2 separate regions of the Homo sapiens genome follow, and region 1 is linked to region 2. Evidence: promoter capture Hi-C in 16 types of primary human blood cells and fetal thymus (Javierre and others, 2016). All regions are on one chromosome and are shown on one strand. The core of a region is centred on a gene start or on the middle of the fragment in contact, and the rest is flanking DNA. Distances in the headings are between cores, read along the strand shown. Region 1 has its middle 14 kb from the start of FBXW5. Region 2 holds the start of TMEM203 (transmembrane protein 203).

What was found. The method cuts DNA at HindIII sites, captures the fragments that hold promoters and counts their contacts. A CHiCAGO score of 5 or more calls a contact.
Region 1: a contact is called between a fragment that was not itself captured here and the fragment with the promoter of TMEM203 in region 2, in 2 of 17 cell types (M2 macrophages and M1 macrophages). The highest score is 5.7, in M2 macrophages.

The regions. Positions count from the first base shown.
Region 1 is chr9:136,928,150-136,932,819 of GRCh38, reverse strand. No RefSeq gene overlaps it. Among named protein-coding and RNA genes, the nearest start is that of FBXW5, 14 kb to the left of the region's middle. The HindIII fragment of the contact is 4,239 bases long and covers 552-4,670 here.
Region 2 is chr9:137,202,705-137,207,112 of GRCh38, reverse strand. It overlaps TMEM203 (transmembrane protein 203), which reads left to right and starts at 1,465. Exons shown (of 1, transcript NM_053045.2): 1 at 1,465-3,031. The coding sequence starts at 1,699. The coding sequence ends at 2,109. It overlaps NDOR1 (NADPH dependent diflavin oxidoreductase 1), which reads right to left and starts at 1,413. Exons shown (of 14, transcript NM_014434.4): 1 at 1,201-1,413; 2 at 804-881. The coding sequence starts at 1,335. RefSeq lists a silencer at 1,450-1,709. The HindIII fragment of the contact is 6,239 bases long and covers 1-2,921 here.

The DNA of each region.
Region 1 (4,670 bases), core at 1,422-3,921, 280 kb after region 2:
GGTTGGTCCAATATTTGAAGATCAACATAAGTCACCATATTAACTGTACAGGAGAAAAACCACATGAACATATCACTTGGTATAGAAAAAGCATCTTTTTTTTTTTTTTTTTGGAAGACAGTTTCCTTGTTGCCCAGGTTAGAGTGCAATGGCACGATCTCAGCTCACTGTCACCTCCGTCTCCCAGTTCAAGCAATTCTCCTGCCTCAGCCTCCCAAGTAGCTGGGATTACAGGAGTGCACCACCATGCCCAGCTAATTTTTGTTTTTAATAGAGATGGGTTTTCACCATGTTGGCCAAGCTGGTCTCAAACTCCTGACCTAAGGTGATCCGCCTGCCTCGGCCTCCCAAAGTGCTGGGATTATAGGCATGAGCCACCAAACCCAGCCATTGAAAAACATCTTGATAAAATGTCTAGTCATGATAAAAAAAAAAAAAAAAAACCCTAGAAGCAAACTAGAAGTAGAAGGGAACTTGCTCAACCTGATAAAACAGCATCACCAAAAATCCCCGTGGGTAACATGATACATAATTGTGAAAGCAAGAAAGCTTTCCCCAAGAGTGGGAATGAGGAAAGGCTATAGACTCTTACCATTACTATTCAACCTTATAAACGGGAAGTCAGCCAATGGAACAAGGCAAGCAAAAGAAATAAAAGGCATAGAGATTGAATAAAAAGAAATAAAACTGTCCTTATTAATGGATGACATATTGTTCACACATAAAATCCCCCCAAATCTATAAAAACAAACAAAATCCTAATCTCCTACAACCAGTAAGTGAATTCATCAAGGTTATGAGGTATAAGAACAACACATAAAAATCAGTTTTGTTTTTAAACACTGGAAATATACAGTCAGAAACCAAAATTCAAAAAACAACCTCTTACAACAGCTCAAGAAACAAAGTAAGCTGTGGGATAGGAAGCAATAAATAAGTAAAAGAAACACTGAAGCATAAACCTACTAAAACATGTACAAGATATGTATACTGGCTGGGTGTGGTGACTTTTATGCCCATAATCCCAGCACTTTGGAAGGCAGAGGTGGGTGAATCACTTGAGTCCAGGACACCAGCCCAGGCAACATGGCAAAACCCTATCTCTACAAAAAATACAAAAATTAGCCGGGCGTGGTGGCACACACTTGTAGTCCCAGCTACTTAGGAGGCTGAGGTGGGAAGATCCATTGAGCCCAGGAGGTCAAAGCCACAGTGAGCTGCGATCATGCCACTGCATTCCAGCCAGTTCAACATACATATGAAATACTACAAAACGCTGATAAAGAATAGAGATAGACTATGTTCATGGATTGTCTGACTCAACACAGATGTCAATTCTCCCCAAACTGATGTGTAGACTTAACGCAATTCCAATCAAAATCCCAGAATTTTTTTGTAGTTGACTGTGAAATATATATGTACTGTCAAACAAACAAAAATAGGGAAAACAATTCTGAAAAACAACAACTGGCTGGGCGTGGTGGCTAATGCCTGTAATCCCATCACTTTGGGAAGCTGAGGCAGGCGGATCACTTGAGCCCAGGAGTTTCAGGCCAGCCTGGACAACAGAGAGACCCTGTCTCCGGCTGGGTGCAGTGGCTCATGCCTGTAATCCCAGCACTCTGGGAGGTCGAGGTAGGCAGATCTGAGGTCAGAAGATCGAGACCATACTGGCCAACATGGTGAAACCCCGACTCTACTAAAAATACAAAAAAATTACCTGGGTGTGGTGGCATGCACCTGTAATCCCAAATACTTGGAAGGCTGGGGCAGGAGAATCGCTTGAACCAAGGAGTCAGAGGTTGCAGTGAGCCAAGATGGGTCACTGTACTCCAGTCTGGTGACAGAGCGAGAGTCTGTCTCAAAAAAAAAAAAAAAAAAAAAAAAAAAAAAAAAACTCTATCTCTACTAAAAATTTAAAAAATTAACCGAGTGTGGTGGTGTGCCTGTGGTCCCAGCTACTTGGGATGCTTGAGGTGGGAAGACCTGCTTGAGCCTGAGGTCTCGAGGGTGCAGTGAGGTAGGATTTGTACCACTGCACTCCAGCCTAGGCAACAGAACGAGACTGTGACTGTCTTTAAAAAAAAAAAAAAAAAAAAAAAAAAAAAAAGGGCAGGGCAGGGCAAACGAAAAAAAAGAGAAAAGAAAACGAAAAGAAAAAAGGAAGGAGGGAGGGAGGAAAAAGGAAAAAAAGAAAAAGAGAAACAAGAATAAAGTTTGGCCAGGTACAGTGACACATGCCTATAATCCCAGCACTTTGGGAGTCCAAGACAGGACAGTGTGAGACCAGGAGTCTGAGACCACCCTGGGCAACATAGTGATATTCTGTCTCTACAAAAATTAAAGAAAATAAGCTGAGCACGATGGTGTGAACCTGTAGTCGCAGCTACTTGGGAGGCCTAGGTGGGAGGATCACTGGAGCTCAGGGGTTTGAGGCTGCAGTGAGGTAGGACTGCGCCATTGCGCTCCAGCCTGGGTGACAGAGCAAGACCCTATATCTTAAAAAGAAATTAAAAAAGAATGCTGACAACACAAAGTGCCCACAAGGATGTGGAGCAGCGGGAACTGTGGCTCATGCTGGCATTCCACAACAGGCTACAGCTATTCTGGAAAGTGCTTGGCAGTTTCTTTTGAATTTAAAAATACACTTACTGTGTGATCCAGCAGCCCCACTGCTAACTACCTTAATGAAATAAAAACTTGCTCAACAACCTGTACACAAATGTTTATAGCAGCTCTATTCAGACCTGCAAAACATTAGAAACAACCCAAACACCCTTCAACAGGTGACGAGACAAACTGATCCATCCATAGAGCACTACTCCAAAAAAAACAAAAAAAAAAGAGAGAAAACAAATGCTGATGCACGCATCCTGATCAGTCTCAGCGGCGTTCTGCAGATCTCGCTGCTCCCAGCCACGCATTGTAGGACTCCATTATGGGACCTTCTTGGAAAGACATAACTACAGTGGTGGAGGACAGGTGTGTGGCTGCCACGGGTCGGGGTGGTGACTATGGGGAAAGTGGAACAGTCTTCTGAGATGGCAGGGCTCGCCTGTCTCCCAGGTATGGTGCTTACCCACATCTGCACAGGTGTGAACATCCATGGAATTGAATGTTCCATGAACAAAACAAAAGAACAAATCAATTTTACTACGTGAAATTTAAAAATGTTATTAGGGGCCAGGTGCAACACCTGCAATCCCAGCACTTTGGGAGGCTGAGGTGGGCAGATCACCTGAGGTCAGCAGTTCGAGACCAGCCTGGCCAACATGGTAAAGCCCTGTCTCTACTAAAAATACAAAAATTAGCCAGGCGTGGTGGCTCACAGCTGTAATCCCAGCTACTCAGGAAGCTGAGGCAGGAGAATTGCTTGAACCTGGGAGGCGGAGGCTGCAGTGAGCCGAGATTGTGCCATTGTATTCCAGCCAGGAAGACAGAACGAGATTCCGTCTCAAAAAAAAAAAAAAAAAAAAAAAACACTTCCTGAGGGAGATGTAAGGTGACACAAAAGTTCGGCAATTCCTCCAAGAGCTGAACAAGCGGCCCAGCAGCTCTACTCCTCGGTATAAATATTCAAGAGAAATGAAAACAAATACACGTCCCCATAAAAACTTGTTCACAAATGTTCACAGCAGCATTTTCAGAGTAGCCAAAAAGTAGAAACCACCCAAATGTCCAGCAACGGATGAATGGATAAATAAGGTGTGGTGCATCCATACAAGAGATTATTCAGCCATTAGAAGGAATGAAACTCCAATGCATGCTGCAACACACAGGAACCATGAAAATATCTTGCTGAGTAAAAGCAAAGGCCACATTCACATGAATGTCCTGAGTAGGCAAATCTATAGAGACAGAAGGTAGGTTTATGGCTGGCTGTCAGGGGCTGAGCGGGAGGGAACAGTGACTGCTAAGGGAAGGTTTCTCTGCAGGGTGATGAAATGTCCCAAAATTAGGTAGTGACGATGGTACCTCTGTGGGTTTGCACAGAGCCTGTCACTTCCCCAGAAGGCCATGAGGCGGCTGGGCCAGGCCTGCCCACGGGGCTGCTCCAGAGCATTTTGTCCCTCAAGGGCCTTGGTCTGCTTCGTGGGAGCCTCTTGGTGTGGCAGCCAGTGCCTAGGGAATTGTTCCGAGTGCAGACCTCTGCCCCTTCTGCAGCCTGGAGCCCGATGCTGCTCTCACTGCGTGGGGGGTGCGGTCCTCAGCTCTTCCCCAGGTTCTCCAGACCTCCATCTCCACTGCAGGGAGGTGAGGGCCAGGAGGACCATCCGGCTGCTCTGGCAAAGGACCTCCAAGGTAGCTGCTCTGCCCCGTCTTTCAGTTGATCCACTTTTAGACTCTGCTCCATGCCAGGGCCTCCCGGTGTGGCCAGCTTCCCCCTCAGCCCTCTTCTGCTCAGCAGCCACCCACCAACCCACTTCCCACCTTCCAAAATGGGTTCAAATCCTTTGTGGGATGTTGGCTTCTTCCCCATCTTTGTCCCTGGGGGAGGATTTTTTTTTGGTCCATTCCTCTCATTTCACAGTTCCATTTCGTTTTAAGTGAGAAGAGATGACCTCAATCAATCTGTTTTAACAAACTGCAGTGACCCAGCAAAACCTGTCACATACAAACAAATCCCCAAATATAGAAGCCCAGTATGTTAAAGACAAAACTTCACAATC
Region 2 (4,408 bases), core at 216-2,715:
GACAACCCTTCATTTCAAGCCCATCTGCCTTGCTGTGGTTACTCAGGCTCTTTGGACTGGGCCTGGCTTCCTGCCTCTCTTCTCCTCCCCTCTTGCCCCAGTGTACTCCTCAGCTTGGCCACCCTGAGCTGCTTTCCACTTTTCACACAAACCAAATCATCTTTTTCCTCTGCGCTGACTGCTCCTTCTTCCTCGGTGCCTGACTAGCCCTCACGCATCCTTCCGTGACTCAGCTTACACTCTTTTCTTCCAGAAACCTCTGCCTGGGCCCCAAGGTTGGGTGAGATAAGGCTCGATGCCCCTTATCAGTGCTCCTGTGACATATGCTACTTTCCCCAGCAGCAGGTGTTTGCTGGCACTGTCATTGCCCGTTAGCTGCTTCTGCTACAGTGTGAACTCTGCCAGGATGGAAATATGGCTGCTGGGTTCACAGCTGGATCCCCAGCACCAGACTGTGCCAAGAATAGAATATGTGCTTAAAAGATGGTCAGAGAATTCAGCAACGTTCCCTGAGGGTCATACAGTCTAGAAATACACACAAGACCCAGACTAGATGCACATATAGATAGCCCTGGAAAAATAAGAAAGGTTAAAACGGATAATAAGGCTATTTGGTGGCTACGACGAGTTTATTAGAGAGGGCAACCGGAGCCCCCAGCCCCACTCACGGACGTTCTCTCAAATCCACCTCTGAAGGTGCATGAGATAAAGGAGAGCTATTTACTGCACCTAGACGCCAGGCAATGAAAACGGGGTGAGGGTCGAGGGCAGGGATCTGAGGAGCCACATCAGGCCAGCCTTACCTTCATGTTGTCAGGGGGGTCTCCTTGGCCTGTAGTTGCACAAACAAATATCACCAGGGGCTCGTTAATCAGATTCACCTCAACAAAAAGACACACACACGTAAGACCTCCGGCTGTAAGGACCGGGCGTCCTTCCCAAAACTTGACCCCCTTCTCCTTTACTCAGGCTGACAGGGCAGAGGGATTTATGTGAGCAGCCAGACCGTCTTCTCTTTCAGGTTCCAACCTCCTCCAGGTGCTAAACTGAACTCCCCTTCCCAAACCTCCTTCCCTAAATCCGCCATAAGGGAAAGACCCGCTCTCAGAGAAAATGCGACGCCTTTTGGGTCGATGACCCCGCGAGGCGGGCACGCCAGGCCTGCTCGTCCCCCACGCCGAGGCCCTAGCGAGCCCTCACCACCGGGTAGGAGTCCAGGGCCTGCACCCGGCAGCCAAGCCGCCGGCGCCGGGCCTCGCGACCCAGTCTCTCCGACACATCCTGAGCCGTGCCTGTCTGGCTGCCGAAGAGCACCAGAAGCTGCGGGCTCGGCATCGGGGTGCGCCCGGTGGTCTGGTCTGAGACTAAAAACTAGAAGGCAGTTCCCGCCGGCCGGGTTGCAGGGACCGCTCCGCCTTCCGCCTTCCGCCGTCGACCGGAAGTGACGCACTAGGGACGCGCCCTGTGGGGGCATGGCGTCCGATCGAGGCGGGCGTTCACGGGCGGCCAGGGTTGAGTCCCGGGTCGGGGCCGGGGGATTGCCGGCGCATCAGGGCCGAGGGCTGGGGCTGGCGGGGCCGCTCGCTGCCTCTCGCTCGCAGCAGCGGCGGCAGGCGCGGGCGAGGGCCACGGGGAGAGGAGACGCAGCCCCGCGGGTGGCACGCTCGGCCGGGCCCCGGCCCGCGCTCAACGGGCGCGATGCTCTTCTCGCTCCGGGAGCTGGTGCAGTGGCTAGGCTTCGCCACCTTCGAGATCTTCGTGCACCTGCTGGCCCTGTTGGTGTTCTCTGTGCTGCTGGCACTGCGTGTGGATGGCCTGGTCCCGGGCCTCTCCTGGTGGAACGTGTTCGTGCCTTTCTTCGCCGCTGACGGGCTCAGCACCTACTTCACCACCATCGTGTCCGTGCGCCTCTTCCAGGATGGAGAGAAGCGGCTGGCGGTGCTCCGCCTTTTCTGGGTACTTACGGTCCTGAGTCTCAAGTTCGTCTTCGAGATGCTGTTGTGCCAGAAGCTGGCGGAGCAGACTCGGGAGCTCTGGTTCGGCCTCATTACGTCCCCGCTCTTCATTCTCCTGCAGCTGCTCATGATCCGCGCCTGTCGGGTCAACTAGCCTCACCGAGGTGCCGGAGAGGGAGCGCTGGACAACTAGAATGTTGACCTCGAGCCGAGGCCCTACTTGCAGCGCACCGGAGGAGAGGCTCTCTAGTCTGAAGGCACCGCCGGCTTGCGCCGAGCTGAGTGCCGGGTTTCCCTATTCCAATCCTGTTTGAAATGGTTTCTTCAGCAGGGCTTAAAAGAGCAGCCTTCATCCTGAAAATGTATTTCCTTTTGTTTAATGCTTTGAGTAGATAATCCTGAATTGAGGTCATGAGGAGGCCCCCCAGGCCAGACAGTCCTGAACCCCTCTGACACTTGGAAACTGAATATAAGTAAAATGTCCAGGTGGACTCTGAGTATTTCCTGTGGATCCTGGGAAAGTACTGTTGCACAAAGGCTGCAAAGCTGGACTCAGGAATGTCCTCCAACCAGCAGCGCTGACCTAAGAGCTCCCTGTGCCGTCTATCCAGACCAGACTTCGGTAGATGCCTTTGTTAGATCTATCACATGTAAACGAGCTTGTATCTCCTTCCCTGTGCCACGAGAGAGATTGGCTTTTTATTCCAGTCTAGGCAGAGACAGAAGAATGTTGAATAAGAGCACGATTAGAGTCCTGTCTGGTTATCTGTTGCCCAAGAAAAGAACTCTGCTGTCCAGGCACTGCTTGGCTTACTATCCCAGCAAAGACTGCAGTTTTGTGGACTTTTGACCACCTTGGGCTGGCACTCTTAGCACACCTGAGACAGATTTAAGCCTCCCTAAGAGACTGAAGAGAGGAACAGGTGTCAGATACTCATAGGCACTGAGATCTACAAATGGGAAGCTTGTGAGTGGCCCATCTTTGTTGGCCTACGAACTTTGGTTTGATGCCAGTCAGGTGCCACATGAGAACCTTTGCTGAGATGCAAATAAAGTAAGAGAATGTTTTCCTGAAATGAATAGTGGTTGCCTGTAACCCTCAAGGGTTAAATAGGATGAATATTGAGATACTCTCTGCTACGTGGTGTAGCTGGTTACAGAGCTGCGGTTTTAAATGGATTGAAACCTGTGGCTAGAGCTTAGTGGATGGTGGTGGTGGGAATCACTTGTTCTGGAGAATCCCTCCTTCCTGCTCTAGGAGGTGGGTAACTCAGGCACCCCCCCCCCCACCCTGTATGAAGACAACAATCTGGGCTCATGTTAAAGACCCATTGAATAGTTTGTGACCCCAGAGCCCATGACTTCTTGCCAGAGTGTGGTCTTTGTGGGCCTTGTTGGCACTCTGTAGAGCAGGGATCAGCAAACAATGTCCTAAGGCCTGTTTTTGTATGACCCTTGAGCTGAGGATGGTTTTTACACCCCTAAATGATTAAAAGCAAAAGCAGGCCAGGCGTGGTGGCTCACGCCTGTAATCCCAGCACTTTGGGAGGCCGAGGTGGGTGGATCACAAGATCAGGAGATCGAAACTATCCTGGCTAACACGGTGAAACCCTGTCTCTACTAAAAATACAAAAATTAGCCGGGCGTGGTGGCGGGTGCCTATAGTCCCAGCTACTTGGGAGGCTGAGGCAGGAGAATGGCGTGAACCCGGGAGGCGGAGCTTGCAGTGAGCCGAGACAACGCCACTGCACTCCAGCCTGGCCAACAGAGCGAGACTCTGTCTCAGAAAAAAACAAACAAACAAAAAAAAAAACAAAAGCAGAACTTGTGACAGAGAGTGGATATGACCCTCAGAGTCCAAGGTCTCTTAATTGGCACTCTTGGCCTTTGGGGCCAGAAGATTCTCTAGTGAGGATGCAGTCTGTTTCGCAGTGCTCCTGCCTCTCCTGGGTAGATGCCAGTAGCAGCCTTCACTTGTGACAAGCAGATGTTTATCCAGACATTGCTAAGGGCCCTGGGGAACAAAATTGTCCCTGGCAAAAACCAGTGGGCTAAAATATTTCCTGTCTGGGGCCAGATGCGGTGGCTCACGCTTGTAATCCCAGCACTTTGGGAGGCGGAGGCGGGCAGATCACGAGGTCAGGAGTTTGAGACCAGCCTGACCAACGTGGTGAAACCCCGTCTCTACTAAAAATACTAAAATTAGCTGGGCATGGTGGCGCATGCCTGTAATCCCAGCTACTCAGGAGGCTGAGGCAGGAGAATTGCTTGAACCTGGGAGGCAGAGATTGCAGTCAGCCGAGATAGCACCACTGCACTCCAGCGTGGGCGACAGAGCGAGACTCTGTCTCAAAAAAAAAAAAAAAAAAAAATTTCCTATCTGGCTCGTTACAGAACAGGTGTGCTGACCTCTGCTCTCATGCATCAGCCTGGCCAGCGGAGTGCGGTGTCAG